4 separate regions of the Homo sapiens genome follow, and regions 1, 2 and 4 are each linked to region 3. Evidence: promoter capture Hi-C in human tissues and cell types (Jung and others, 2019). All regions are on one chromosome and are shown on one strand. The core of a region is centred on a gene start or on the middle of the fragment in contact, and the rest is flanking DNA. Distances in the headings are between cores, read along the strand shown.

Region 1 (7,153 bases), core at 3,334-5,833, 220 kb after region 3:
ACTAAGCACTTCAAGCGTATCATTAACTAGAGTTCAGTATTTATTTAAGGTTTCTCTTTTTTAGCTAAAATTTACATATAATGCAATGTACAGCAATTAATTATTCCAGTCGGTGAGCTTTGAGAAGTGGTCTGCAGCTCAGCCCCATGTGGGTTGCAGGTCATCTGGAGTGACCATGGAAGTCATTTAGCAGGAGTTTAAGAGGCGAGGGCCAAGGACTTGCAGGCCAGGATAAAGGGGCCTGGAGGGAGGGCAGCAGAAGCCAGGAGGGGAAGCTGGGCATGAACCAAAGGGTCCTGGGGATTTTAAGGAGAAGTTGAGGCTAGTCCAAGGGTCCAGCCTCTCCTGGAGAGGGTTACTGGTGACTAAGAGGAGTGTGTATGGGGAGGGTGCAGGGGAGTTGGCCAGTCATGGATGGGGTGTGTTACAGGGTACACCAGATCATCCTGGGTCGGGAGGGGGGCTGTCCAGAGCAGTGTGGGAGGAGTTAAGAGATATTGAGGGCAGAGAGACAGATGTGTCCAGGGATCAGCAAGGGGACGGATCCTCTCCCTTTCGTGGAGATCCAAGCCAGTGAGGTCTTCTAGCCCCAGGTGCGATTAGGTTCAGCCTCCACTCCCCAGATCCTGACCTCAGATGTTGGGCAGGTTCCCAAGACCTTCCTCAGGGCTCTGATAGATTGGCACAGGCCTCCCCTGGCTGGTCCAGCTCTGGATCAGTGTGACCCTGCCCACTGGGACCCTGTGGTACCTGCTTCCTAAGCCTGAGGTCAGCTAGCTGACAGTAAGGTGCTAGATGGGGCAGGCAACATGTCTATTGCTGTACCAGGGTGAGTATCCAGGCTAGGCCTGACTCCCTCCCTCTCAGCTGCCACCTTAGCTGCCCTTCTGCACATCGGCCTGTCCTTGTTGTCCAGGGGGCATGGGAAGGTATGTTCCTCCTGATGAGACCTGGCCAGTGACTCATAGCCCAGAAAGGCATATAGTCACACTGGCCAGTGGGGCCCTCCCAGGAACCTCTAGATTTGGCACCTGCAGGGAGGGCTCCTTTATGAGCTGTTTCTGTGATGTTTCAACTTGTACCAAAATGGAAAGCATAAATGCGGCATCAGGCGTGATGTCAGTGCTGAGTGATCTGAAACACTGAATGCCTGCTCTCCCTGGTAGGGCTGGGGCTCTCCACAGGAAGAAGGCTGAGTGACGTCTGCAACCTTCCTTTTCCTTGCTGCTGGGGGGGTGAGAGGAGGCGAGTGGGAAGAGAACATGTGACTTCGGGGGGCTCTCAGAGCTTCCTGACAGCCATGGAGGTGACCGTGAGGTAGACTCCACCCTGTGAGCATCCTTTGGGGCCAGATATGGCAAGCAAGGCTGAGTCCCACCCTTGAGGGCTGAGACACTCTGTGCAGCCAGTGTTCCTGCAGGGAAGATGTAGAAGCTCTTCCCAGAACTGCCCTCCTTGCTCCAGAGCCCAGTGGAGGAATTACCAGGGAGTGACCATTGCAGACAGATCACAGCTGCTCATTCAACTTAGAGTTCATACAGCCTCCAGCTTGGGCCCCAAGCCTCTGGATCCTTGGCCAGTGCCACCTTAGCTGCCCTTCTGCACACTGAATAGTTTGAGTAAGGAAGCAGCTAAAAAAGACTCTTCTCAGGGAGAAAGTCCTCTCAGAGCTACAGAGCCCACAGGGTCCTATGTTTCCAAGTCCCTAGCAGACAGGTGGCAGTGGCTCCCTGCAAAGCCTGTAGGAAGGCTTCCTGCAGCTTCTGCTTCCCCCACCTCTTAAACCACCTCTTGACCTTGTACTGCACTGAGCCTTCCCATCCTTACTGCCACTTAGGCCCCCACTGGGTCGGGGTGCACGGGCTTCCATGGAGGTCCCTACCAGTCCTTGGAGATGGCAAGATGGGCTTCCTTGCTAGCAAGAAGAGTCAGCTCATTCAAAGCTAATGTCTGACAGAGCTGTCCACCTTAGGGTAGCCCCAGGAAGGCTCCTGAGACACGAGGCTCGTGGCTGGTAGCCTGCACATCTCCTGCCCATGTGCCAGATCAGGATCTTGGAGGTATTAGACAGCAGAACCCTAGCTGAGGCTTCTTGTCACACTGGTAAAAGGATAGTCCCTCTGATTCTGATGGAGAGCCAGCTTGGAGAGGGCCTAGGAGCCACAGGGAGCCTTCTGGGTTCAACCTCTTGATGAGGAGGCATCACTGTGTGCAGCTAAGGAAGGCTCTAACTGTACTGGCACTCAGGCCAGTGGAGTCTGCCACAGAACTATTCATGTATACCCAGGCTGGGTGGGCGGGTGGGTTGGGGTGCACAGCCATCATCTCTCTCCCTACCCCGTGGACAGCCTCCATCCCCCTGAGTGTGGGGATAGGGGCCTTGCAGTATGGAGGAAGAGACTGAGGTTGGGCTCCTCCCAGGAAACTGCTGGGGATCTGTCGGGGAGGCAGAGAGGGGGATGTATTGCTGGCCTCAGAGAGCTCCCTCAGCCAGTGTCCTCCTTAGGAGGCCTTGCATGCTGGGCCTGAGCCTGGGAGGGGCTGTGGGGAGGGTGCGGTCAAGGTTCCTTACCGTCTGGAAGAGGCTGGATAGAAATAGCTGCACCCATCTGGGCGATGAGTCACTGAGGGGCGTTTCAGCCTTTTCTTGGAGAAGTTCTATTTTAGGTGAGATGCCTGTGCCACAGCCTGGATGACAGGGGCTGGGGAAAGGAAAGTTCTGGCGGTGAGTGCAGGCGGTTTGGCACGTGCCTTTGTTCAGCCTGATTCAGAACCCCAGGGACAGTCACCCCAAAGTTGCAGGATAAGAAGCCTTACCTCCTAAATTCCCTTTCCCAGGAAGAAGTCTCACCTCAGGGCATGCTGCAGTGCCCAGGTGAATGAGAGAGATGGGACGTTGGGTGTGGGCTGGGCACCCACGGGAAGAACTGAATTTGTGGCTGCCACCCTGGGCCAGAGGCTGAGCTTCCCCTCTGAGGAGTAATCCCCTTCCAGGGTCCCTCTCTGGATGAGTAGAAATGGCCTGCTCTGGGGAACTCTCACTTTGATGGGAATAAGCCCCTCCCTCCCAAGAATGACCTTTCTAAAGAGGTCTTTAGACTGGGTTCAGGGACTGAAATTGTTTTCTCTCTGGCTTTCTCTACCCAAACATAGACAAAGCTGCCTTGCTTCTTTCTTTCTTTTTCTTTTTTTTTTTTTTTTTGAGACAGAGTCTCGCTCTGTTGCCCAGGCTGGAGTGCAGTGGCATGATCTCGGCTCACTACAACCTCTGCCTCCCAGGTTCAAGCGATTCTCCTGTCTCAGCCTCCCAAGTAGCTGGGACTACAGGCATGTGCCACCACACCCGGCTAATTTTTTCTATTTTTAGTAGAGACGGGGTTTCACCATGTTAGCCAGGATGGTCTCGATCTCCTGACCTCATGATCCGCCCGCCTCTGCCTCTCAAAGTGCTGGGATTACAGGCGTGAGCCACGGTGCACGGCCTGCCTTGCTTCTTAAAAAGCATTTGGGTGGGTTAATTGTTCCCAGCTAGTGGGATGGCTTCTCACCTCACTGCCTCGGCATCACTGTTCTTAGAGTTTCTAGAACTGGGATTGGCCTTTGGGGGGCTCTGCCAGGGTTTGCAGTGCTGACTTCTAGAGCCTGACTTGGCCTTTGGAAGAGGCAGGACTACAGAAGGCACCAGGCTCCAGGCTGTCCAGGCTGTGGTTTAGGAGCTACGCAGAGCTGTCAGGGCTGATCTTGCCAGCAGCAACACTTCCTAGCCAGGGAACCATTGAGAACACATTGCTAAAACATCTCAGATCTTGGTTTTCTCTCCTGTGAGGACAAAATGAGAGAATGCCTGTGAACATGCCCTATGTGGTGCTTGGCACAAGGGGGTGCTTGCCAAAGTGCAGTGTTCTCCCTCTTCTTGGCTGCTGCCCTTGGGTTGCTGGGATAAGGCACCTGAGCCCAGGTCCCCCAACTGGCAAGTCAACCTGTAGCAGTAGCCCTGGGGCCTCAAGGCAGAGAGCAGGGCTGGAGCCACGTGTGGGTAAATAAAAGGGGCCTTCTGCCCCAGAGATGAGACGGCACCTTCCCCTGGTGATGACTGGGTGGCCAATAGGGTGCATTTAGAACCTCTGGCTGCAACCACAGACAGAGAACAACCTTGGCCTCCAGCCTCAGCTCTGGTTGATGAGGAGGAGACTCTTCATTGAGGCACCAAATCTCGGGGCTTCCACCTTGTTGAGCTATGACCTGCATGACCAAATTGCCAGGATGAATGAAGCAAGCCCCTCTGGGATGAGCCCTGCTCTGTACCACATGTTGTGTGCAGCCCTGAGAACACCCTATCAACGAGAGCTCATGGGCTGCTTTGGGGCACAGAAGACACCTTGTAAACAACAAATCAGTAGACACTTTGGGAAAGAATAAGCACTATGGAGAAAATAAGCTGGGTGATTTGACACAGAGTACCCGGAGGGTGTTTTATTTTTATTTATTTATTTAATTATTTTGAGATGGAGTCTCACTCTGTTGCCCAGGCTGGAGTGCAGCGGCACAGTCTTGGCTTACTGCAACCTCCGCCTCCTGGGTTCAAGCAATTCTCCTGCCTCAGCCTCCCAAGTAGCTGAGATTACAGGCGTTCGCCACCACACCTGGCCAATTCTTACTATTTTCAGTAGAGATGGGGTTTCACCATGTTGGTCAGGCAGGTCTCGAACTCCTGACCTCAAATGATCCTCCTGCCTCTGCCTCCCAAAGTGCCTGGATTACAGGTGTGAGCCACCGCACCTGGCCAAAGGAGAGCATTTTAGATTGTGTGGCCAGAGGAGGTCCTGGTGGGAAAGTGTTACCTCATCTGAAATCTGTACAACAAGCTGGGCCAGGGGGCAGAGGGAATAAGGAGTACAAAGGCCCTGGTACAGAAATGAGCTCAGGGGACCACTTGGCAGAGCAGACAGCCTAGAGTGTCTGCAGTGAAACAGCCAAGGGGAGATGGCAGGAAAAGAGACCAGAGAGAGGGGGAGGCTGGGGTGGGGCTGGGTTGGGTCACAGAGTTGTGCTGAAGAGTTCCCAAGGTGTGGTGGAAATCCACTTAGAGTGTTTGATCCTATTGGTGAGATGCTCTGATTTACATGTGGGTTTTTGGAGAAAAATTATTGGGTCATGTAACTGGAAGTCCAAGGGTAGACTTGGGGCATAGCCAGATCCAGGGAATGGAATGAAGTCATCAGATCTACTCCTTTCTCCTTTCGTTGACTCCTACCATCTATGGACATCATTCTTAGCATCTCTCTGTATGTTGGGAAAGAAGACTACTGCTGCTGCAAAGCTACATCCTTCTGATTAGTAATCCAAAGGAAAACGAATAAAGACCCTCTCTCCTGTTGTTCATTACCAGATAACGTGGAGGGCTCTAACCGACTCTGTTTGCCAGGTCACGTGCCCATCCCTGCACAGGGCTAATGGCAGAGGGAAACTATGTGTTTATCACATGGATAGCGGCACATGTCTCGTTTGCTCTGGAGGCATGAATTATCCCACTTCTTTAAAAAGCTATCTTCCTTAAGGGAAAAAAAAAGGCTTTAAAAAATTCTACTTAACATCAGTCACTTACATTGCATTACTTTACCCTCGCTTATTTTGTTCTCAAGATTTTTCATTCTGTAGTATCTTGTTTCTTCAGCTAGACTCTAAGCTTCTTCAGGATAGGAATCATGGTTTCTTTTTATTCTCTATGCCTCCTTCTCCCACGTATTACTCTTCACTTATTTATTCATTATGTGAGTTTTTACTGAATACCCATTGCATATAAGCACTGCTCTAGGGCCATGCCTTTCCTCTTGGGTTAGGTTTTAAAAGATCAGTCTGGCTGCTATGTGCAAATGGCCTGAAGTGGGAAGCAGGGGAAGGCTACTGGGTTCATCCGAGCGGGAGGTTGGGGTGCACAGATCTGAGGCACTGCCAGGGGGTGGCGGGGAGGACTCTCAAGCAGGAGGGTCTGGCAGGCAGTGAGTTGGTGGTTGGGGTGGGGTGGGGGATGGGACTGCCTCCACTGCCTCACATGCCTGGCAACTCCTAGAGGGCAGGGGAGTGCCATCTGTCCTTCAGCCCTGCCACCTGGCAGCCCAGAAATGCCTGAGCAGGGCTTGGTGCTCCTGCCTGTGCTAGGAGTGGCCTTGGCTGCTGTGGGGCCTGCACTGACCTGGGCCATGAGTACTGCCAATCCTGGCCACCCTGCTGACTATTTTGCTTTTCTCCTCAGGTGAAGGAGTGGCTCTGTCTGAACTGTCAGATGCAGAGGGCTCTGGGAATGGACATGACCACTGCACCTCGCTCCAAGAGCCAGCAGCAGCTGCACTCCCCAGCCCTGTCTCCTGCCCACTCCCCGGCCAAACAGCCCCTGGGGAAGCCAGACCAAGAGAGATCTCGGGGCCCAGGAGGACCACAGCCTGGGTCCCGCCAGGCTGAGACAGCCAGGGCCACCTCAGTGCCGGGGCCTGCCCAAGCAGCTGCCCCTCCAGAGGTGGGGAGGGTGTCTCCTCAGCCCCCTCAACCCACCAAGCCTTCCACAGCTGAGCCCAGGCCACCTGCAGGAGAGGCCCCGGCCAAAAGTGCCACCGCAGTGCCCGCTGGGCTTGGTGCCACTGAGCAGACCCAGGAGGGCCTCACTGGTAAGCTCTTCGGCCTTGGCGCGTCACTGCTAACCCAGGCGAGCACCCTCATGTCTGTGCAGCCCGAGGCTGACACCCAGGGCCAGCCTGCCCCCAGCAAGGGGACACCTAAGATCGTCTTCAATGATGCCAGCAAGGAGGCTGGCCCAAAACCCTTGGGCTCAGGGCCCGGGCCTGGGCCAGCACCTGGAGCCAAAACTGAGCCTGGGGCTAGAATGGGTCCTGGATCTGGACCTGGAGCCCTGCCGAAAACTGGGGGAACAACCAGTCCAAAGCATGGCAGAGCAGAACATCAGGCAGCATCGAAGGCTGCTGCCAAGCCAAAGACCATGCCGAAGGAAAGGGCCATCTGCCCACTGTGCCAAGCCGAGCTCAACGTGGGCAGCAAGAGCCCAGCCAACTATAACACATGCACCACCTGCAGGCTCCAGGTGTGCAACCTGTGTGGCTTCAACCCAACACCCCACCTGGTGGAGGTAAGAGCTGGACCA
Region 2 (7,084 bases), core at 531-3,030, 240 kb before region 3:
AAGGAGGCATCTGCTAGAACATCCTCCCATCAGGGGAGCAGTGGCCAAGTTTCAAGTTGGGCCTTAACTCTTGATTGCCCAGGACTCTAGTCCTCTCCTCCCCTGCATCCACACTTACTCCCCCATCAACATACCCAGCCTCTTGGCTCTAAATGCCATCTGAAAACTGGAATTTCTATCTCCAGCTCAAACTTTCTCCTGAACTTTGGGTTCAGTAGACAACTGCCTACTCCACATCTCCATGTAAATGCCTAATTGAGCATCTCCAAACATATGACTGAGCTTTGGGTCATCCCCAGACACACTCCACCTATAGCCTCCCCCAGCTCAGACCACGGCAGCCAGATCCTGTCAAACACCTTGAGTCCCCTTGATTCTCTTCTCTCATACCCCACATTGAATATGCAAGTATCCTGTTGATACTGTGGTCAAAATGTGCCCAGGACCAGACCACATCTCAGCATGCCCACTCTTTTCCCCGATCCAAGCCACATTACTCTCTTGCCTGAATTATTGCAAGAGCTTCCTGCCTGGTGTCCCTGCTTTCAAACTTACCCCTCCAGTCTGCTGTCTGCTTAGCAGCCAGCATAATTCTGTTAGTACATAAATGAGATCACATCTCATTTGCTGAAAATCCACAACAGTTCCTCCTATTTGTGATAGCCAAAGTCATCATAGTGGTCTGTGAGACCCACATGATATTGGTCCTTCTGTTACCTCCAGCCACACTGATTTCCTCACTGCTCCTCAGACACACCAGGTGCTCCCACTTAGGGCTTTGCACCACCTGTTCCTTCTCCTGGCCATATAATTCCCTCACACCTCCCTCTTTTCCTTCCTTGAGCACTAGGCCAATAGTTCCATCACCCTAACCCTGCATTTTTCACCTGCTAACATACTATATTGTTCTATGTGATGTTACCCCCACTGATTAGAACATCTCATGCCCCGCCATTAAACATAAGCTGCTTGTGGGCAAAGGCGGTCTGTCTTGCTCACATCTATAACTTCAGCACTGAGAATAATGCCTGACACAGCTCAATAAATGTTGCTGTTAAATCAATAAACAGGCTGGGCACGGTGGCTCACACCTGTAATCCCAGCACTTTGGGAGGCCGAGGCGGGTGGATCACCTGAGGTCAGGAGTTTGAGACCAGCCTGGCCAACATAGTGAAACCCCGTTTTTACTAAAAATACAAAAATTAGCCGGGCTTGGTGGCTCATGCCTGTAATCCCAGCACTTTGGGAGGCCGAGGCGGACAGATCACTTGAGGTCAGGAGTTCGAGACCAACCTGGCCAACATGGTGAAACCCCGTCTCTACTAAAACACACAAAAAAATTAGCTGGGTGTGATGGTGTTTGGCTGTAATCCCAGCTACTCAGGAGGCTGAAGCAGGAGAATTGCTTAAACCTGGGAGGCAGAGGTTGCAGTGAGCTAAGATTGAGCCACTGCACTCCAGCCTGGGCAACAGAAAAAAAAAAATTAATGAACAGGGACAGAAGGTCCTGGCCCCAGGGCATTTACTTTGGCTCAGTTGGAGCTAGAGAGCCTTGCTCCACTCCCATGCAGAGAAAGCCCATCTCTTAGGCCTCCAGACTTCAGCAGGAATCTGTCCCAAGAACACCTTCTTGCCTTTGTGCTTGGCTTCTGCCTGCAGAGCCATTCCCTCTCCAGTCACTCAGTTTCTCCTGCTGTAGACCTGAAGTGGCCAGATCTGGTGAGGTCAGGCTTGGCTGGCTTGGGAGTATAGGTAATGGCTGACAGCAGGTCCCCAGATAAAATACAGGGGCTGGCTCCATCCCTGAACCAGAATCTTCAGAGTAGAGCTTATTGTATGTGTGTTTAAGAGTTCCCTTTTTAGGCCAGGTGCGGTGGCTCACGCCTGTAATCCCAGCACTTTGGGAGGCCGAGGCGGGCGGATCACGAGGTCAGGAGATCGAGACCATCCTGGCTATCATGGTGAAACCCCGTCTCTACTAAAAATACAAAAAATGTGCTGGGTGTGATGGCGGGCGCCTGTAGTCCCAGCTACTCGGGAGGTTGAGGCAGGAGAATGGCGTGAACCCGGGAGGTGGAGCTTGTAGTTAGCTGAGATCACACCACTGCACTCCAGCCTGGGCGACAGAGTGAGACTCCGTCTCAAAAAAAAAAAAAAAAAAAAAAGAGTTCCCTTTTTAGAACCGCCTGCCTTAGACAGTCTGATGGTAGTCTTCAAGCAGAATGAAAACTCCAAGAAGGTGGGAAGCTTTCATTCCTCAAAATGCAAGCTGAGGCTGGGCACAGTGGCTCATGCCTATAATCCCAGCAGTTTGGGAGGCAGAGGCGGATAGATCACTTGAAGCCAGGAATTCGAGACCAGCCTGGCCAACATGGTGAAACCTTGTCTCTACTGAAAATACAAAAATTAGCTAGGTGTGGTGGTGGGCGCCTGTAATCCCAGCTACTCGAAAGGCTGAGGCAGGAGAATTGCTTGAACTTGGGTGGTGGAGGTTGCAGTGAGCCGAGATCTCACCACTGCACTCCAGCCTTGGCAACAGAGAGACTCTATCTCCAAGAAAAAAAAAAAAAAAAAAGCAAGCTGAGGCCGTGCAGTGGCTTACACCCGTAATCCCAGGACTTTGAGAGGCCAAGGAGGAAAGATTGCTTGAGCCCAGGAGTTCAAGACCGGCCTGGGCAGTGTGGAAAGGCTCCCAGACACTGTCTCTACAAAAAATAACAAATTAGCCAGGCGTGGTGGTGCATACCTGTGGTCCCAGCAACTAGGAAAGCTGAAGTGGAAGGATCACATGAGCTTAAGAGGTCAAGGGTGCAATGAGCCATGATCGTGCCACTGCGAACCAAGCTACAGACTGGGAGAAAATATTTATAAACCATATATCCAACAGAGGACTAGAATATATAAGGAAGTCTCTCAACTCAACAGTAAAATCACAGTCTAATTAGAAAATGGACAAACATGAAGACATCTAACCAAAGAAGATTTACAGACGACAAATAACACATGAAAATGTGTCCGGAATGGGTGGGTTCTTCGTCTCACTGACATCAAGACTGAAGCCGCGGACCCTCGCGGTGAGTGTTAACAGTTCTTAAAGGCGGCATGTCCGGAGTTTGTTCCTTCTGACGTTCGGATGTGTTCCCAGTTTCTTCCTTCTGGTGGGTTCGTGGTCTCGCTGGCTCAGGAGTGAAGCTGCAGACCTCCGCGGTGAGTGTTACAGCTCTTCAGGCGGCGCGTCTGGAGTTGTTCGTTCCTCCGGGTGGGTTCGTGGTCTCACTGGCTTCAGGAGTGAAGCTGCAGACCTTCGTGGTGAGTGTTACAACTCATAAAGGCAGCGTGGACCCAAAGAGTGAGCAGCAGCAAGATTTATTGCAAGGAGTGAAAGAACAAAGCCTCCACAGCGTGGAAGGGGACCAAAGCGGGTTGCCACTGCTGGCTGGGGCAGCCTGCTTTTATGCTCTTATCTGGCCCCACCCACATCCTGCTGATTGGTAGAGCCCAGTAGTCTGTTTTGACAGGGCACTGATTGGTGCGTTTACAATCCCTGAGCTAGACACAAAGGTTCTCCACTTCCCCACCAGATTAGCTAGATACAGAGTGTGGACACAAAGGTTCTCCAAGTCCCCCACCAGAGTAGCTAGATACAGAATGTCAATTGGTGCATTCACAAACCCTGAGCTAGACACAGGGTGCTGATTGGTGTGTTTACAAACCTTGAGCTAGATACAGAGTGCCCATTGGTGTATTTACAATCCCTTAGCTAGACATAAAGGTTCTCCAAGTCCCCACCAGACTCAGGAGCCCAGCTGGCTTCACCCAGTGGATCCCGCACTGGGGCTGCAGGTGGAGCTGCCTGCCAGTCCCGCGCCGTGTGCCCACACTTCTCAGCCCTTGGGTGGTCAATGGGACTGGATGCCATGGAGCAGGGGGCGGCGCTTGTTGGGGAGGCTCGGGCTGCACAGGAGCCCAGGGAGTGAAGGGGGAGGTTCAGGCATGGCAGGCTGCAGGTCCCGAGCCCTGCCCCGCGGGAAGGCAGCTAAGGCCTGGCGAGAAATTCAGCACAGCAGCTGCTGGCCCAGGTGCTAAGCCCCTCACTGCCCGGGGCGGGGGGGCCAGCCACTCCGAGTGCAGCCCGCTGAGCCCATGCCCACCCGGAACTCACGCTGGCCGGCAAGTACAGCGCGCAGCCCCAGTTCCCCCTCTGGCCTCTCCCTCCATACCTCCCCGCGAGCTGAGGGAGCCGTCTCGGGCCTCGGCAAGCCCAGGAAGGGGCTCCCACAGCGCAGCGGCGGGCTGAAGGGCTCCTCAAGTGCCCCAAAGTGGGAGTCCAGGCAGAGGAGGTGCCGAGAGCAAGCAAGGGCTGTGAGGGCTGCCAGCACGCTGTCACCTCTCAAAAAGATATTCATCATTAAACATCAGGGAAATGCAAATTAAAACCACAATAAGATATCACTACACATCTATCAGAATGGCTCCAATTGAAAATGGAGACAACATCAGGTATTGGTGAGAATGCAGAGAAACCAGATCATTCATGCATTGCTGGTAGGAATATAAAGTGGTAAAGCCACTCTCAAAAACAGTTTGGCAGTTTCTTTTAAAAACTAAACATGCAGCCGGGCGCGGTGGCTCATCCTGTAATCCCAGCACTTTGGTAGGCTGAGGTGGGTGGATAACCTGAGGTCAGGAGTTCAAGACCAGCCTGGCCAATATGGTGAAACCCTGTCTCTACTAAAAATACAAAAATTAGCTGGGCATGGTGGCACACACCTGTAATGAGATTGCTTGAGCCCGGGAGGCGGAGGTTGCAGTGAGCTGAGATCGTGCCACTGCACTCCAGCCTGGCCGACAGAGTGAGACTCTGTCTCGAAAACAAAACAAAACAACAAAAACACTAAACATGCAACTACCACATGACCCAGCAATTGTATTCCTGGGCATTTATCCCAGAGAGACAAAAACATATGTTCAACCAAAAGTTTATATACAAATATTCTTAACAGCTTTATTTGTATGAGCCAAAAACTGGAATCAGGTCAGATATCCTTTAACAGATGAATGATTAAACAAACTGGTACATTGGTACCAAGGAAATACTACTCAGTAAATGAAAATAAATGAACTATTGATACACACAATAATTTGGATGAATCTCTAGGAAATTATGCTGCAAAAATAGCCAGTCTCCAAAGGGTGCATATTGTATTATTCTATTTATATAACTGTTTTTGAGACAAGGTCTCACTCTGTTGCCAGGCTGGAGTGCGGTGACACAATCATGGCTCACTTCAGCCTTGACCTCCTGGGCTTAAGCAATCCTCCTACCTCAGCCTCTGGAGTAGCTGGTACCACAGGTGCATGCCATCATGCCTGGCTAATTGTTTAACTTTTTTTAAGAGATGAGGTCTCATTATGTTGCACAGGCTGATCTTGAACTCTTGGGCTCAAGCAATCCTCTTGCCTTGGCCTCCCAAAGTGCTGGGATTAGAGGCATGAGCCACTGTGCCCAGCTTTATATAACATTTCAATTTTATTTAATTTAATTTATTTTTTTGAGACAGAGTCTCACGTGTAGCACAGGCTAGAGTGCAGTGGTGTGATTTTGGCTTGCTGCAACCTCCACCTCCCAGGTTCAAGAGGTTCTTATGCCTCCGCCTCCCAAGTAGCTGGGATTACAGGCATGTGCCACCACACTGGCTAATTTTTGTATTTTTACCAGAGATAGGGTTTCACCATATTGCCCTGGTTGGTCTTGAACTCCTGACCTTGAGCAGTCCACTGCCTTGGCTTCCCAAAGTGTTGGGATTACAGGCATGACCCACCGCACCTGGCCTATGTAATTTTTTTTTTTTTTTTTTTTGAGATGGAGTCTTGCTCTCTTACCTAGGCCGGAGTGCAGTGGCGTGATCTCAGCACACCACAACCTCTGCCTCCCAGATTCAAGCACTTCTCCTGCCTCAGCCTCCCGAGTAGCTATGATTACAGGCGTGAGCCACCAACCTCAGCAAATTTTTTGTATTTTTAGTAGAGATGGGGTTTCACTATGTTGGCCAGGCTGGTCTTAAACTCCTGGCCTTAAGCAATCCACCCACCTCGGCCTCCCAAGTGCTGGGATTACAGGCGTGAGCCACTGCGCCCGACCTATAACATTTTTAAGTGACAAAATTTTAGAAATGGAAGATTGATTGATTTAGAAATGGGGGCCAGGCGCAGTGGCTCAGGCCTGTAACTTTGGGGGGCCGAGGTGGGTGGATCACCTGAGGTCGGGAGTTCAAGACCAGCCTGACCAACATGGAGAAACCCCATCTCTTCTAAAAATACAAAATTAGCCGGGTGTGGTGGTGCATGCCTGTAATCCCAGCTACTCAGGAGGCTGAGGCAGGAGAGTCACTTGAACCCGGGAGGCAGAGGTTGTGGTGAGCCGAGATCACGACACTGCACTCCAGCCTAGGTGACAGAGCAAGACTCTGTCTTAAAGAAAAAAAAAAATTACATAGACCAAGCAGGGTGGCTCACACCTGTAATCCTGACACTTTGGGAAGCCAAGGCAGGTGGATCACCCGAGATCAGGAGGTTGAGACCAACCAGGGAAATATGGTGAAACCCTGTCTCTACTAAAAATAAAAAAAATTAGCTGGACACGGTGGTGGGTACCTGTAATCCCAGCTACTCAGGAGGCTGAGGTGGGAGATTTGCTTGAACCCGGGAGGCAGAGGTTTCAGTGAGCCAAGATCACACCATTGCACTCCAGCCTGGGCAACAAGAGCGGAACTCCAAAAACAAAACAAAAAAACAACAAAAAAACCAGAGCAGCACCAGGGATCCCTTGTGATGTTGGTCTACCATCACAGTCAACTGTGGTGTTAGATACACAAAACTACACAGGTGATAAAATTTTAAAGCTTTTTTTTTTTTTTTCCCCGAGACGGAGTCTCGCACTGTTGCCTGGGCTGGAGTACAGTGGCTCGATCTCAGCTCACTGCAACCTCTGCCTCCTGGGTTCAAGCTATTCTCCTGCCTCAGCCTCCCAAGTAGTTTGGATTACAGGTGCCAGCCACCACTCCCTGCCAATTTTTTGTATTTT
Region 3 (6,758 bases), core at 44-2,543:
CAGGTGTTTGAGTCACGTCGCCTGGCCAGGGACCACATGTTGAATAGAGAGGGGTTAAGCAGAAGGGATGGCCAGAGAGCAGCATATTAACCTTGGTTTCTGGCCTCCTAGCCTGATGTAGTAAGACTGGGATATTCCCCTCCCTACAAATGTCTGTGTCTCTGGAAATGACTCAGGGATTCTGTCCAAGACTGCAAGCCCTGAGAAGCTGTGTTTGACTCATCTCTGTGCCCCTAAGCCTGAGGTAGGGACTCAGCCCATTTGCTGGCTCATGACTAAGAAAACTCATAGAGCAGAAATAAAAGGGCCCACCTGGTTTGGTCTTAGCTCTGCAATGTCTCCAACCACTAGACTCTCCATCAGCTTCACCCGGTCACTACCAAGTATCTTGGTCTGGGGAAGAGATTGAAAGCCTCAGGCCATTGCAACAGCTACAATCCAAAAGGCTACTAAGCAAGGATGCATCCTCCCTGCCATCCACAGTGCAGTCCAGCCCACCCAAAGTGACTAACCAGTCTTTTGGTTCTACACGTGGCAAAGGACCACCTTCTGATTTCCTGACCTCCCCCAGTCACTCTGTGTGGGGGGACTGCCAGGGAACTGGACAGGACCTAGCACCTTCCTGAAATAACCCCTTTTCAAACCAACATCCAGCCCAATACATGAGAGTGGGTGTCAGCCCTGGAAAACCCGGGACATTAAGGCACACCATTTAATGGGGGCAAGCTAGAAGGATGAGATGATGAGACCCTCTGAGCTCATTTCCTTGGGGCCATTGACCTATCCATGACACCCCCATGACCTCTAGCTCTTCTGAGAAGGCTGTCCTTGGAATCCAGTTCACAGCAAACAAAGCCAAGGAGTGGACCACTGTAAACAGGGAGGAAGGCCTGATCAGATGGCCAGTGTGCTCCCCTGGCTCACCTGCAGCATATGAGACACGTCAAAGAGCGAGCAGTGCTGGCGTGTGTGCAGGTGCGAGTCAGTGTGACTGTCCCGGTACTGCACTGGCAGACTCCAACCCGCAAACGCCACCATTTTCCCGCCGTGGGCCAGGTGGAAGTCATAGAGCGGTGTCCTGCGGAGCACCTCCTGTGGGCGGCTGGGCTTAGTGCCACCAGGGCCCTAGCCCCCAGCCGCTTCCCTCCCCCACCCTCCAAGATCAGCACCCTCTATCCCACCTGTGCGCAACTAAGTGGACGACACAAGGCCGGGGGGAATGCCTGCAGGCGAAAGCCCAGACGGGCCACCACACTTACAGCCCTCTGCATCGTCGCCTGCAACGAGTGCAGACGGCGCACAGAGGCCACCACACTGCCAGGCACGCCGGGAGATGTAGTCCAGGCCTCTGCTCGGACAGGTCTCTCTCCGGAGCAAAGGATCTGAAGGGGGCGTGGGCAGCCCCAAGGGCAGGCTGGGATTTAGAGCAGAGAATGCAGGAACCCGCAACCACAGGGAAGAAGCCTCCAGCTCTTTCGGCTGACTCTTCAGGGCAGCTCGGGCAATCCAGAGCTGATTGGGCTGCCCAGAACAAAGCTAGGGGCTAGACCGCCCCCTGCAGAACCGCCCTGTCTCCAGAGGGTCAAAGTTCTGGAAAGGGCTGAAAGGTCTGAATCATACCTTTAGGACCTCAAGAGAGTAAGGTCAAGTGGGGGTGGGGAAGGTGGGCCAGCCTGGCAGGTAGGCAGCACCACAGTAGTCTGTCCTCATGTGGACCCCTAGTTCCACAGCTCTCCCACCAGGCAGACACAGGCAGCCAGCAGTCATGCATTCCACAAGTATTTATTGATCTTACTGCATACCAGGCCCTCAGATGGGGACACAGCCACGAATGAAGCATGGTCCCTGCTACCACAAGGTCCTCTTCACTTACACACACACTGAGGACTACTGCTTCGTCACGCTTTCCGAAGCAGCTGAGTGGGGCTATGTAAGTGACCTTGCAGATGAAGTCGCCACCTGCAAGAACTCACAGGTGAGAACAGAGGGTGGCCACCAAAAGGTCACTGAACTCCCCCGAGAAAACTGTTGAGCCACACACATGTCCAACTTTCCAGGTCCAAGACATACTGCAGTACTGCTTTGTAATAGCCACCAGGTGCAAAGCCAGGAAGAACCAGAGGGAAACAGGTTTTTCTCACATGAGGGAAGAGCAGCCTGCATCACTTAATGGTTGGACTGAGTTAATGCAGGACTTAGGCCTCTTAAAAGGCAACAATGAGAACCCTTACTTGGACCCACTCCCCACCACGGTTGATCTCTCATTATGCTGAGCATATCTCTTGGAAAGGGGCAGGGCGGGCGCGGTGGCTCATGCCTGTAATCCCAGCACTTTGGAAGGCCAAGGCAGGCAGATCACCTGAGGTCAGGTGTTTGAGACCAGCCTGACCAACATGGAGAAACCCCATCTCTACTACAAATACAAAATTAGCCAGGCATGGTGATGCATGACTGTAATCCCAGCTACTCGGGAGACTGAGGCAGGAGAATTGCTTGAACCTGGGAGGCGGAGGTTGCAGTTAGCCAAGATTGCACTATTGCACTCCAGCCTGGGCAACAAGAGCAAAACTCAACCTCAAAAAAAACAACAAAAAAGGAGAGGGGCAACTGGGAGAAAGGATAGAGATGTGCTTTGGGCTATGTCAGATGGCAGAAGGGTCCCAGTTCTTTTTTTTTTGTTTGTTTGTTTAAGATGGAGTTTCGCTCTTCTTGCCCAGGCTGGAGTGCAATGGCATGATCTCAGGTCCGCAACCTCCACTTCCCGGGTTCAAGAGATTCTCCTGCCTCAGCCTCCCAAGTAGCTGGGATTACAGGTGCCTACCACCACGCCCAGCTAATTTTTTGTATTTTTAGTAGAGACGGGGTTTCTCCAGGTTGGTCAGGCTGGTCTTGAACTCCTGACCTCAGGTGATCCGCCTGCCTGGGCCTCCCAAAGTGCTGGGATTACAGGCGTGAGCCACTGCACCCTGCCTAGAAGGGTCCCAGTTCTTATGCTCAGGCCCTGGTTTTGCTAGAGACACGTGCCCAGGCCCTATGGGCACACCCACTTGAACATATATTCAGGAGCCAGCTCAGAAACCAAGAGACTCAGGCTGCCCAAATCTTCAGGTTTCCTTCCTAGGCAGGCAGCAGAAGAGTTCAGACAGGAAATTTCTCTCTGTGGCATAACACAAATGGAAAGAAAACCACTAGGGGACACACAGGAAGAAATAAGGTTTCTGTTTCTTCCTCAAGTGTCCCAAGTGCCATGGCAGCAATGGCCTTCCAGGTCCATACATGGAGCAGGTTTTAGTAGGTCAGCCCAGCCCAACTGCACTGACATGAGGGAGCAGGCAGAAGACAGGAATGTGCATGTTGCCAGAAGGGGCAGAGGGCACTCAGGGATTCTCAGTAAGTACAACTGACTGGAGTGTTTTTGGGTAGAAGGAAGAATTGAGTTGCAGCCAGGCGAAGACAGAGCACCCCCATGCCAGGAGCTCATGCTGAAGTAACACGGTAAGCCCCTGAGAATCCTGAATCTGTGAATGTGGCCCAGACAGAACAGGCATGCAGGCAACACTTGGAATGCACAGGAAATACACTTCAGCCTCTGGTGGCCCAAACCAAGTCTGGGTGGGCACAGAAAGGCCAACATCTTGGCTAGGAGCAACCATTCAAGTGTAGGAGAGCAAGTTCAGGTCATAACAGCCATCCACCTGAAATACAAAAGACCATCAGGTCTGATCTGCTCAGGGCAAAGCAAGCCAAGCAGAAGGAAGCGATTACTTACATCAAAGCGGCCGATCCTTGCGGAGGTGTGACTGGCCCGGATCATCTCTGTCAGTGCCCACATCTGCTGCACCTCGGAGGATACCCTGCTGGGGTCTGGGAGACCCTGCTCCAGAAGGAGGGGTCAGTGGCCATGGGTCTCTCCCCAGCAGTGCCCTTCAGGCTCCAGAGAGGCCAACCTGGGCTAGGGGCCCTCCAGCTGAGACCAACAACATTCTCAGATGGCTTATGAAACATGAGGTTAGGGCCTGATGTAGCCCCACAACAGAGATGCCTCAAATCCCACAGAATACCCAGGAGGAAGATAACACCCAAGGGCCCTGGGCCCAGCCCCAGAATTTTACAGGAAGGGGTCTACCTGGCCTGTGTTGGACACTAGAGCCATTCACACATGGTTCTTACCTAGGGTGAGGGCTTACCTCACGGAGGAGTGCAGGTTGCTCACAGGGCACTGGGTGGGAGAGCCACTTGGGAAAGGTCACGGAGGGGCTCTGCAAAGCAAAGATGTACTGCCCTGAGTGAGACAAAGTGGACAGCTCTGGGACCAGATTCCAAGGTCCTAGGAGCAGAGAGAAGGGCCGCTGGGCCTCAGACACTGGGAAAACCCTGTTTAGGGAGCCCACAGAGACCTAAAGAGGCAGTCAGACTACCTAAGTTCTCCTGCTGTGCAGACGGAGTCCTCAGAAACACAAGCTCAAAAGTGTCTCCCAGCACCTAAAGGCTCCAGCTCTGAAAGTAGCAGGTGGCCCCAAAGGTCAGGGGATATGGGGACATGGCCTCACCTCTCATTGTGAGCTTCCAGCATTCACACCCAGCTAACCTCCATGAAGGCCCCATTCACAATCTTCACCCATTACCCACCCCACCACCTAGCTTTCCCAGTCATAGAAGCTTTCTGGGGAAAGGGCCAGCCAGCAGCTGAGCTAGTCACTTACCTTTGGTCCCTGCTGATAGATCTGCAGCTCCTCCACTGTGAAAGACAGCCACAGTGGTGATGGCTGCCGCAGAATCAGGCGTAGCTCCGATATTCTAGCCATGTCACACAGCATCTGACACACACACACAAGGACCCAGCAAGGATCCAGCTCACTGCCCAGAAGCCTCCCAACCAGCAATGAGCCAGAATGCTGCCCACCCCACAGGCCTTGGGAAGGAAGGAACAGTAGTCCCTCCAAGGCACTTCCCTGGAAGTCACAGTTCAGGCCAGACTGGCCCCCTCTTCCCTCTTGGTATATTGATCCAATCCCCCCACCTCTGGTAAGTCCTCATCTGGGCTGCCCTGGCCATCCTGAGGCCCAGCTGACCTGATGCTTGAACAGCGATACATACTCCTGGGCTCCCTCCTCACTGTGTGGGTCAGGCATTAGGCAGTAGTCCCGCAGGCAGGTCACCCACTTGGCAGGTGTGTGTGCTGAGGTGTACTGACGGACACGGATGCTCAAAAAAGCTGTGTAGTAATTCTTAAACGTGATTTCCTGCAACTAGAACACATACAACCCATTACAACAAGTCAGACCCAGGCCCAGGGGCCTGAAAAGCTCAAAGATCAAAGGTGCCACCTCTTCCTTCTCCCCACCTTTTCTTTTTTTTTTTTTTTTGAGAGGAAATCTTGCTCTTTTGCCCAGGCTGGAGTGCAGTAGCGTGATCTCAGCTCACTGCAACCTCCACCTCCCAGGTTCAAGCGATTCTCCTGCCTCAGCCTCCCTAGTAGCCGGGACTACAGGTACGTGCCACCACGCCCAGCTAATTGTTTTGTACTTTTAGTAGAGACAGAATTTCACCATGTTGGCCAGGATGCTCTCAAATTCCTGACCTTAGGTGATCCACCTGCCTCTTCCCCTTTCAATGTACTCTTCTACTAAACTAACAATTTCAACAAGTATCACTAGGGCCCAAAGACAATTCTGCCTTCCTAAAGGTGCTCACAGTCTAAATGAGTAGGTCCTGGAAACAAACCACGACTGCAGATCTTGCCACACGTCCAAGATGCTGCTAGAGAGCAGCGCTCTAACCCTGGAAGAGGCAGAAAATGTACATATGAGGCCTGAAGGAGGAAGAGTTCACCAAGTGGACTAAGAAATGTAGAAAACGTGGCCGGGCACGGTGGCTCAAGCCTGTAATCCCAGCACTTTCGGAGGCCGAGGCGGGCGGATCACAAGGTCAGGAGATTGAGACCATCCTGGCTAACACAGTGAAACCCCGTCTCTACTAAAAATACAAAAAATTAGCCGGGCTTGGTGGCGGGCACCTGTAGTCCCAGCTACTCGGGAGGCTGAGGCAGGAGAATGGCGTGAACCCAGGAGGCGGAGCTTGCAGTGAGCTGAGATCGCGCCATTCCACTCCAGCCTGGGCGCGACAGAGCAAGACACGGTCTCAAAAAAAAAAAAAAAGAGATGTAGAAAACGTAGGCTGGGTGCAGTGGCTTACATCTGTCTGTAATGCCAGCACTTTGGGAGGCTGGGGCGGGTGGATCATTTAAGTTCAGGAGTTCGAGACCAGCCTGACCAACATAGTGAAACCCAATCTCTACTAAAAATACAAAAATATTAGCTGAGCGTGGTGGCGCATGCCTGTAATCCCAGCTACTCGGGAGGCTGAGGCAGGAGAATTGCTTGAACCCAGGAGGTGGAGGTTGCAGTGAGCCAAGATCAAGCCACTGTACTCCAGCCTGGGTGACAAAACGAGGCTACCTCTCAGAAAAAAAAAAAAAAAAAAAGAAATGTAGATAATGTAAAAGTAGCATATACAAATAATTACCAAAGGGTGAGAGAACCTGGTGTGCCACTGGAACAGCCAGTGATTCAGCTTGACTACTGCAGTGGATCTTGTCATTGGATACTCATCAGAATTACCCAAGAAAATGTGTTACCAAATAAATTGTCCTGGCTTCACCTTAGTCTACTAAGTCAGGATTTCCAAGGTTGGGCTCTTTAATTAAGTTTCCCATTTGATGGTAAGGAACAGCTTGGGGGAGAACCACACACCACAGC
Region 4 (6,624 bases), core at 2,689-5,188, 240 kb after region 3:
CAGCCTGGGTATCCCAGCTCTGCTGAGTACTCACAGCCATCCCGTGCTTCATCCGCATACCATCATGCCTCTGACAGCAAGAAGGGCTCCCGGCAAGCCCACTCCGGGCCCGCTGCACTGCAGTCAAAGGCAGAACCCCAGGCGCAGCCGCAGCTGCAAGGTCGGCAGGCAGCTCCAGGACCACAGCAGTCACAGTCACCATCATCCAGGCAAATACCCTCTGGGGCAGCATCACGCCAGCCACAGACACAGCAGCAGCAGCAAGGTCTTGGGCTGCAGCCCCCACAGCAGGCTCTGACACAGGCTCGGCTGCAGCAACAGAGCCAGCCAACCACCCGGGGCTCAGCCCCTGCTGCCAGCCAGCCTGCAGGGAAGCCTCAGCCAGGCCCCAGCACAGCCACAGGTCCTCAACCAGCAGGACCGGTAAGCAGAGCTCCCATGCATGGGTTGTAACCAGGGAAGATGCTATGAATGAAGCTTGGACATCCCCTTGGTTCCAGGCTGGGCATGGGCAGAATCTTAGCTATAGGTTCTGTGTTGCAGCCACGGGCAGAACAGACAAATGGCTCTAAAGGGACAGCCAAAGCACCGCAACAGGGGAGGGCTCCTCAGGCCCAGCCAGCACCAGGACCTGGACCTGCAGGTGAGCCTATCCTTTGACACCCTTGGCTGTGGCCCAGAGCACCCAGGCTGTTCTCTCTCTATACCACCTGTGCCCTGAGCTCCCCCACACTGCATGCCCTCACTAATCCCTGAGAAGGTGCCCCAGGGGCTGTAGACCTCCCCAGCAGAAAACAAGCCTGGGGTTAGAATAAGCCAATGAGGTCACCAGCACAGGGGCTTTAGGGCCCAAGCAGCTTTGGGCAGAGAAGCAGGAAGGCACTGGTGAGCACAGGGTGGGGACCATGGCTTCTTGCTCCCTCCTTCCTTCCCCTTTCCTGCTCTTCTCTGCCTTTTTTTCCCTTTCTTCTTCTTTCCCTTCCTCAACCTCCTTTTTTCTGCCTTCTCCCACCCCTTGTCTTCCTGTTCTTACCTTCTTCTCTTTATTTCCCTAGCCTCCTTCTCACCTTCCCACCTTATAGGGTACCTGTGTTCAGATTCTCTCGTGGGTACTTGCCCTCTTAGACCCTAAAGAGCCAGGCCGTGCATAGCTCATTATGGCGATTTCTTTCCTCCTAGGTGTGAAGGCTGGAGCCAGGCCTGGAGGAACCCCAGGGGCTCCCGCCGGCCAGCCAGGTGCCGATGGGGAGAGCGTGTTCTCCAAGATCCTCCCTGGCGGGGCAGCCGAGCAAGCTGGCAAACTGACGGAAGGTATGCACTGCCTGCAACTGGTCTGTGGTGGGTGGCTACTCTGGTACAGGCTGGGTCTGTGAGATGATTCCAGACTCAGTCACCCAGGCAGAGGCCAGCCAGAGAGCCCACCTGCTGATGCCCAGTTGTTCTCCGGGCAATCTCTGCCCCTTGGGCTGAGCTTGCCTTCACTATGCCAAGTGGCCCTGACTGGGAGGGGTCTGGCCCAATTTCCTGATGGCTCTCTCCTCTTTCTTTGTCACAGCTGTCTCTGCTTTTGGCAAAAAATTTTCCTCATTCTGGTGACCATGCCCAGCATGGTGAGTACAAGCAGCCTGTACCTTGCCTCTTCTGGGAAAGGCCCGAGGCACTGGGGGTGGGGGTGGGGCTCTAAGTCCGAAGGGGTCCTCTGGGAGGAGTCCAGTCTTCGGCTGGTTCAGTACCCAGAGCTGCAATGTTCCCTTCTCTGAATGTGGGAGGAGAAAAAGGAGGGACACTGTGCACAGAGCCCCTACCATGGGGCCAACACAGTAGGGGTCCCCAGCAAAGGAGGGGCCAAAGCCAGGGCCAGTGCCCTGGCTTTCAAACCATCTGCCATCCCCTGCAGGGCTCTCACAGCACTGGGCTGGCACTGGGTTGTAGGTAGGCCTCCAGGGATGCAACTCCTCTCCAGCCCTCCTCTAAATGCTCCACAGGCTCTTGAAGAAATGAAGAGAGGTATCATTGCTGTGGAAAAATCTCTGGAGTCAGAGGCCTGGGCGCAGCTCTGGACTCTGCGTATAACAGTGAGTGTCAGGATCAGGGTGAGATGGGCCGGAGGAGGGGTGAAGGGCCAAGGCCTGGCTGATGACAGCTAGCCAGTTCTGACAAGTGTGAACTGGGAAGGGCCTGTTGGGTTTCCTTCAGCTGCGATGGGCCCAGCAGCCCTCTACCCCGCAGAGGCAGGGGCCACAGAGCTGCCTGAGATGGTGCCAGACAAGTCAGGTGGCACCCTTGGAGAAGAGCCCAGCACGGCTAACTGCACCTCACAACTTGAAGTCTATGTGCTGGGCACTGAGTTCAAAGTCATCCTGAAGGACCTGGTAGTCTGTGGCACCTGTAGGGGAACATGCTTCTTCCCTGATGTCTGCTGCTGGTGCCTTTGCTCCAGCCACTTGGAAGAGATTAGAGTCCCCAAACCCCACAGAGTCACATCTGCAGCTCTGGGAATGAAGTCAAAACACTCCTGGCTTCACAGGCTGAGCTTGTGGCCCACAGGATAGAAGAGTGGAAGGAGTAGAGAGGCAGACAGGAAGGGACATAGAGGAAAGGGAGTCTCAGCCCCAGACTAAGTCAGCTCAGGGAGAGGGCAGAAGGGCCTCAGGATGGGAGCCCTCACCCTGTCTGGGCTGCAGTGGCCAAGGCAGGTTGGGACACCACTTCCTGGAGCCTGTCCTGGCCCTGGCCCTGGCCCTGGCCTTGGCCCTGCCTCTGTGGGAGGAGGAGGAAGTGCATCATCCTGGGTGGGAGGAGAATCACCTGGCTGTTGGTACAGCTCTGTGCACAGCCAGGACCACTGACCATCATCCCATAGCCCTCGGACCCTCCTCTTCTCCCTCCTTGCCCCTTCAGGGTGCTTCTCACGGTGCACAAGCATGTATGTGTTATCCATGGCGGGGCCTGGCGGTCAGTGAGCAGGTCACTTCAAGGGAGCCCTGGGGCTGGCAGATGCTGGGCCCGGGCCAGCACTGGTTGTGGGAGGGAAGGAGCTAGGTGTGATACCTCACAGGCTACCTTTCTCTGGAAAAGCAGTGGGGCCCTGGAAAGGCCCAGGCTTCCGTCCATTTATTCAACAAATGTTTGTCAAGCCCCAGGTATGTGCCAGGCACTCTTCCAGGATCTGGGGATATGGCAGAGAACAAAACCAAGTCCCTGCCCTCTGAAGCTGACAATCCATTAAAGGAGATAGAGAATAAATAAGTTTAAAAATAAAATTCAATTAAAAAGGTACTTTCTGAAAGTGATGAGTGTTATAAAGCCAGAGAAGCAGAGCTATGGAAGCAGTGGGGTCTGCTCTAGACAAAGTGCTCAGAGCAGAAGATATGTGAGGGAAGCTTGAGGGAGGAGGACGACTGCGGTGGGATGAAAAAAGGGGAGGGAACAGCACTGACGGATGATCGGATGCTGGGATGGGACCAGGGACAGGGCAAAGGCCAGTATAGCCAGGGCCACAGTGGAGGGGAGAGGTGGTCAGGGGTAAAGTCCAAGGGGGTGGGAGCCAGCTGGGGTGGGTTGTGCAGGCCAAGTAAGGAGCCTGGAATTTATTCTAATTACAGTAGCCATAGTGCAGCCCTTAGCGTTCTTCCTGCCTTCACCCTCCCACAGCGGGCTTCCTGCGGCTTCCCGCTCAGCTGATGTTTCCTTGGAGTTGCCCTGGAACAGATGTGAAATCACAAGTGGTGCTGAAAGTGGGGGAAGGAGGGACAGCCCATGGCCTGGATTCATGACAGTACCTACCTTGGGTTTGGGGCCAGGGTATGGCTCCTGAGCAGGGAAAGGAAGCACAGACACAGCTTTGTTCTGCGTCCTGCCACATGGTGTGGTTGGGCCACTGAGACCACTGACTTTATAGTTAAAGAAATCTCCCTTGAGTTCTAGCATTCGGCTAATGATTGGGTCAAGTGGACAGTGCTGCCGTGAGTATCCCTCTCCTGAAATTCTTTACGGCAATTTCAGAGATGGGCTTGGAGAGGTTTGCCATTTCAAACCAAATCCCTTCTCCATCACTCTTAAGCCAAAAAAAAAAAAAAAAAAGGAACTTTTGTTACATTAAAAGAAGTGTCCCTTCCTGGCTGACCTGATTCTTCTTTCTTGCTGTCCTCTCTGTGACCTCCAACCTGCCCAAGCACCCATCTCCCCAAGCCTGAGTGGCATGGCACCCCGTGGGTGAGGAGGTGGCCGCTAGCACAGGCAGATGGCTGAGAGGAATGTGAGGGTGAGAAGCAGCTATCTACAATTCTTGACAGAATCCTTTCTTTTCTTCTTTCCTTCCTCCCTCCCTCCTTTTCTCTTTCAAGCATCTACAATCTGGCAAACCCTTGGCCCAAAGACTCACCAGGTGGGACGTGGCAGGCAGGCCTCAGTTGAGGACGTGATGTTTTCTCACAGCAGCTGCCTGGGTGAAGCATCTGCTGGACAAGTCGGACCACTGGCCAGGGGACCTTTGATTGTCTTTCCAGAGATGCTGCTCTCTGCAGGGCACCACCTTCAAGGCACAGCCCTTGTTGGGAGGGAGAACCCTCTCCAGAAACCCTGCCACCATGGTGTCTTGCCGTACTTCCCACAGCCGCCTTTTTGCGGCCTGGCCGGCCAGGCTTCCCGTGCGTTATACACAGAGTTTGGGCACACACTGCCCTCCCTCCGAGATGCCAGAAGTTTTTCCACAGCCTTGGAGAGGGGCTTTGACTGAGGGCTGGGGGCCCTGGGCTCCGTTTCCTTCACATTCCAGCTGGCCCGGATCCCTCTGTGGCACAGGGCCCTGCCCGTCACATGCCCTCTGGGTGACATCGGAGCAGACCTCCATGTGGCCAGGGGTTGGGAGAACTTTACAAACATTAGGACCTAACACTGTCTCATCGCTGAAATAAGAGGCCATAGCACCGAAAAGCAGCGTGGGCGCCGGCTGAGGCTTCTCCCAGCCCGTGGGTGGCAGCGTGCTAGCACACTGCCACCATCTCAAAGCCATCCCCCTAGCCATCGTGAGCATCCCAGCGGCACCGCCATTGTCTCAACCAGCCGGCTCCTCGTCTGTACACCTGGGGATTTCTTTTGATTTCAAGAACAGCCTTAATCATTCCAGTTTGATTTACGTGTATACCTCATAAACATTTTTCTTTTGTTTCTCTCTCCCCCTTTCTCTCTTCTCTTGGCTCACTCCCTTGCCTCTCCCCCTCCACCACCACCTTGTGACTGATGGTTTGGTTTCCTCTCTGCTCTGCCCCTGCTCAGCACAGGGAGAATGTTGACTTAGAAGCAATAGGGGGCAGCAGGCCACCAAGAGCACAACCCCAGGGCGAGGTCTGGGGAGGCCTCCCAGCCCGCCTCTGTTTACTGTGCAATTCCAGTCGTTCTTAAGCCATCACCAGTGGGTGTACTCAGAGCAGAGGGGCCAGGACTTCTGCCAGCCAAGGGAAAGGCCCAGAGCCCTGTGCGGGGGAATGTGGCACTGTCTATCCATCCGGTGGACTGGGCAGCATTCCTCCCCAGGGCTCTTCCCTTGGGGGCCTCCTTTCATCTGGGGCACAGCCACAAGTCTCATCTCTAACGTTCTATGCAATGAAATATAAACCCTCAATGACAACTGTTAATATTTAATAAATTCCATGTTATGTATAAGGAGTTAATTGCAAACATGCAATTGAGAAACTGGATAGATACACTCATAAAACCCCCACCCCTCCCCACCCCACCCCTGCTCCCATTGTGTGTGTGAAATTCTCAGTCTGTGGCATGTTTGACCTGTGGCAGGACTCGCTGCTGCCAGGTGAGTCACCGCCTGTCCTGCAGTGGAGCATGCACAGCTCGCAGCCTCTTTGCACGATTTCATCCATTTTAAATGCTTGACCCTCTTGCTTGGAGTTCTTTTTGCCTCAGAACCTCTCCTTCAGGAGCACTTCTAGCTGACTTCTGCACAAGCTAGTGAGGACCTGCCAGAATTGTTGCCTGAGCGTGCCAGGCTGCAGGGCAGGCAGTAAAAGGCCCCCACATACCCTGCAGTTTTCTCTGTCCAGGACAGCAGGTAAAAAGGAATCCCCAGAGCAGACGCAATGGTAGGAGCCTGCACAGGATGTGTGTGTATGGACATTCTGAAGGTTTGCTGTAGGATATCTGTCTGTCTGTCATTTTCCCTTCCTACCCCAACCCTGAGCCAGAGGCATCTGACAGCCCTTTCCCAGAGGGCACCACGCAAGGGCAGAGCTGGGCGGCATCCACAGCCAGAGAGGCAGAGGCAAGAGCAGAGCCAGGCTGTGCCCGAGGGACCCCAGCTCTTGACTGCACCTGTTTCATGCCTCTCCTCTGTGGCTAGGAGGCTCAAAGGACTGTGAGCCAGGAGATCTGGGCTGGAGCTAGGGGGTCAATGGATGCTCAGGAAGAGCTGGGCCTTTGGCACTTGTGGTGAGAACAGTTGACAGTGGTCATCTGGAACTGTTCATATAAACAGTGGCTTCAAGCTAAGTTTCTTGTGAAGTTTCTCAATAGCAAATCTTACAGAAGGTCCTGTGTGACCCTCTCTGCATCTGTCCCCAGGACCTATGCTCCCTGCTCACCCCCTTCTCCAAAGCCCAAGCGTCCCGC

The links. Contacts are between HindIII fragments. The study calls those that stand out against the background at their distance.
Region 1: a fragment that was not itself captured here is called in contact with the fragment with the promoter of AMT in region 3 in 1 of the 25 tissues and cell types used here (IMR-90 fibroblasts).
Region 2: a contact is called between a fragment that was not itself captured here and the fragment with the promoter of AMT in region 3, in 1 of the 25 tissues and cell types used here (lymphoblastoid cells).
Region 4: a contact is called between a fragment that was not itself captured here and the fragment with the promoter of AMT in region 3, in 1 of the 25 tissues and cell types used here (liver).

Annotation. Positions count from the first base shown.
Region 1 is chr3:49,636,015-49,643,167 of GRCh38, forward strand. It overlaps BSN (bassoon presynaptic cytomatrix protein), which reads left to right. Exons shown (of 12, transcript NM_003458.4): 3 at 6,254-7,138. Among named protein-coding and RNA genes, the nearest start is that of APEH, 35 kb to the right of the region's middle. RefSeq lists enhancers at 2,176-2,677, 2,678-3,177. The HindIII fragment of the contact is 7,249 bases long and covers 960-7,153 here.
Region 2 is chr3:49,178,787-49,185,870 of GRCh38, forward strand. All of the region lies in intron 2 of CIMIP7 (ciliary microtubule inner protein 7), which reads right to left. Among named protein-coding and RNA genes, the nearest start is that of CIMIP7, 9.5 kb to the right of the region's middle. The HindIII fragment of the contact is 5,587 bases long and covers 1-4,574 here.
Region 3 is chr3:49,421,180-49,427,937 of GRCh38, forward strand. It overlaps AMT (aminomethyltransferase), which reads right to left and starts at 1,294. Exons shown (of 9, transcript NM_000481.4): 1 at 1,182-1,294; 2 at 925-1,092; 3 at 313-393. The coding sequence starts at 1,271. It overlaps NICN1 (nicolin 1, tubulin polyglutamylase complex subunit), which reads right to left. Exons shown (of 6, transcript NM_032316.3): 2 at 5,073-5,249; 3 at 4,704-4,817; 4 at 4,188-4,259; 5 at 3,770-3,874; 6 at 1,154-3,695. The coding sequence ends at 3,654. RefSeq lists enhancers at 169-921, 922-1,675. The HindIII fragment of the contact is 4,289 bases long and covers 1-2,091 here.
Region 4 is chr3:49,663,244-49,669,867 of GRCh38, forward strand. It overlaps BSN (bassoon presynaptic cytomatrix protein), which reads left to right. Exons shown (of 12, transcript NM_003458.4): 7 at 1-423; 8 at 544-643; 9 at 1,180-1,311; 10 at 1,556-1,610; 11 at 1,986-2,075; 12 at 4,347-6,624. The coding sequence ends at 1,596. Among named protein-coding and RNA genes, the nearest start is that of APEH, 7.8 kb to the right of the region's middle. RefSeq lists a silencer at 3,353-3,647 and an enhancer at 3,353-3,647. The HindIII fragment of the contact is 4,016 bases long and covers 1,931-5,946 here.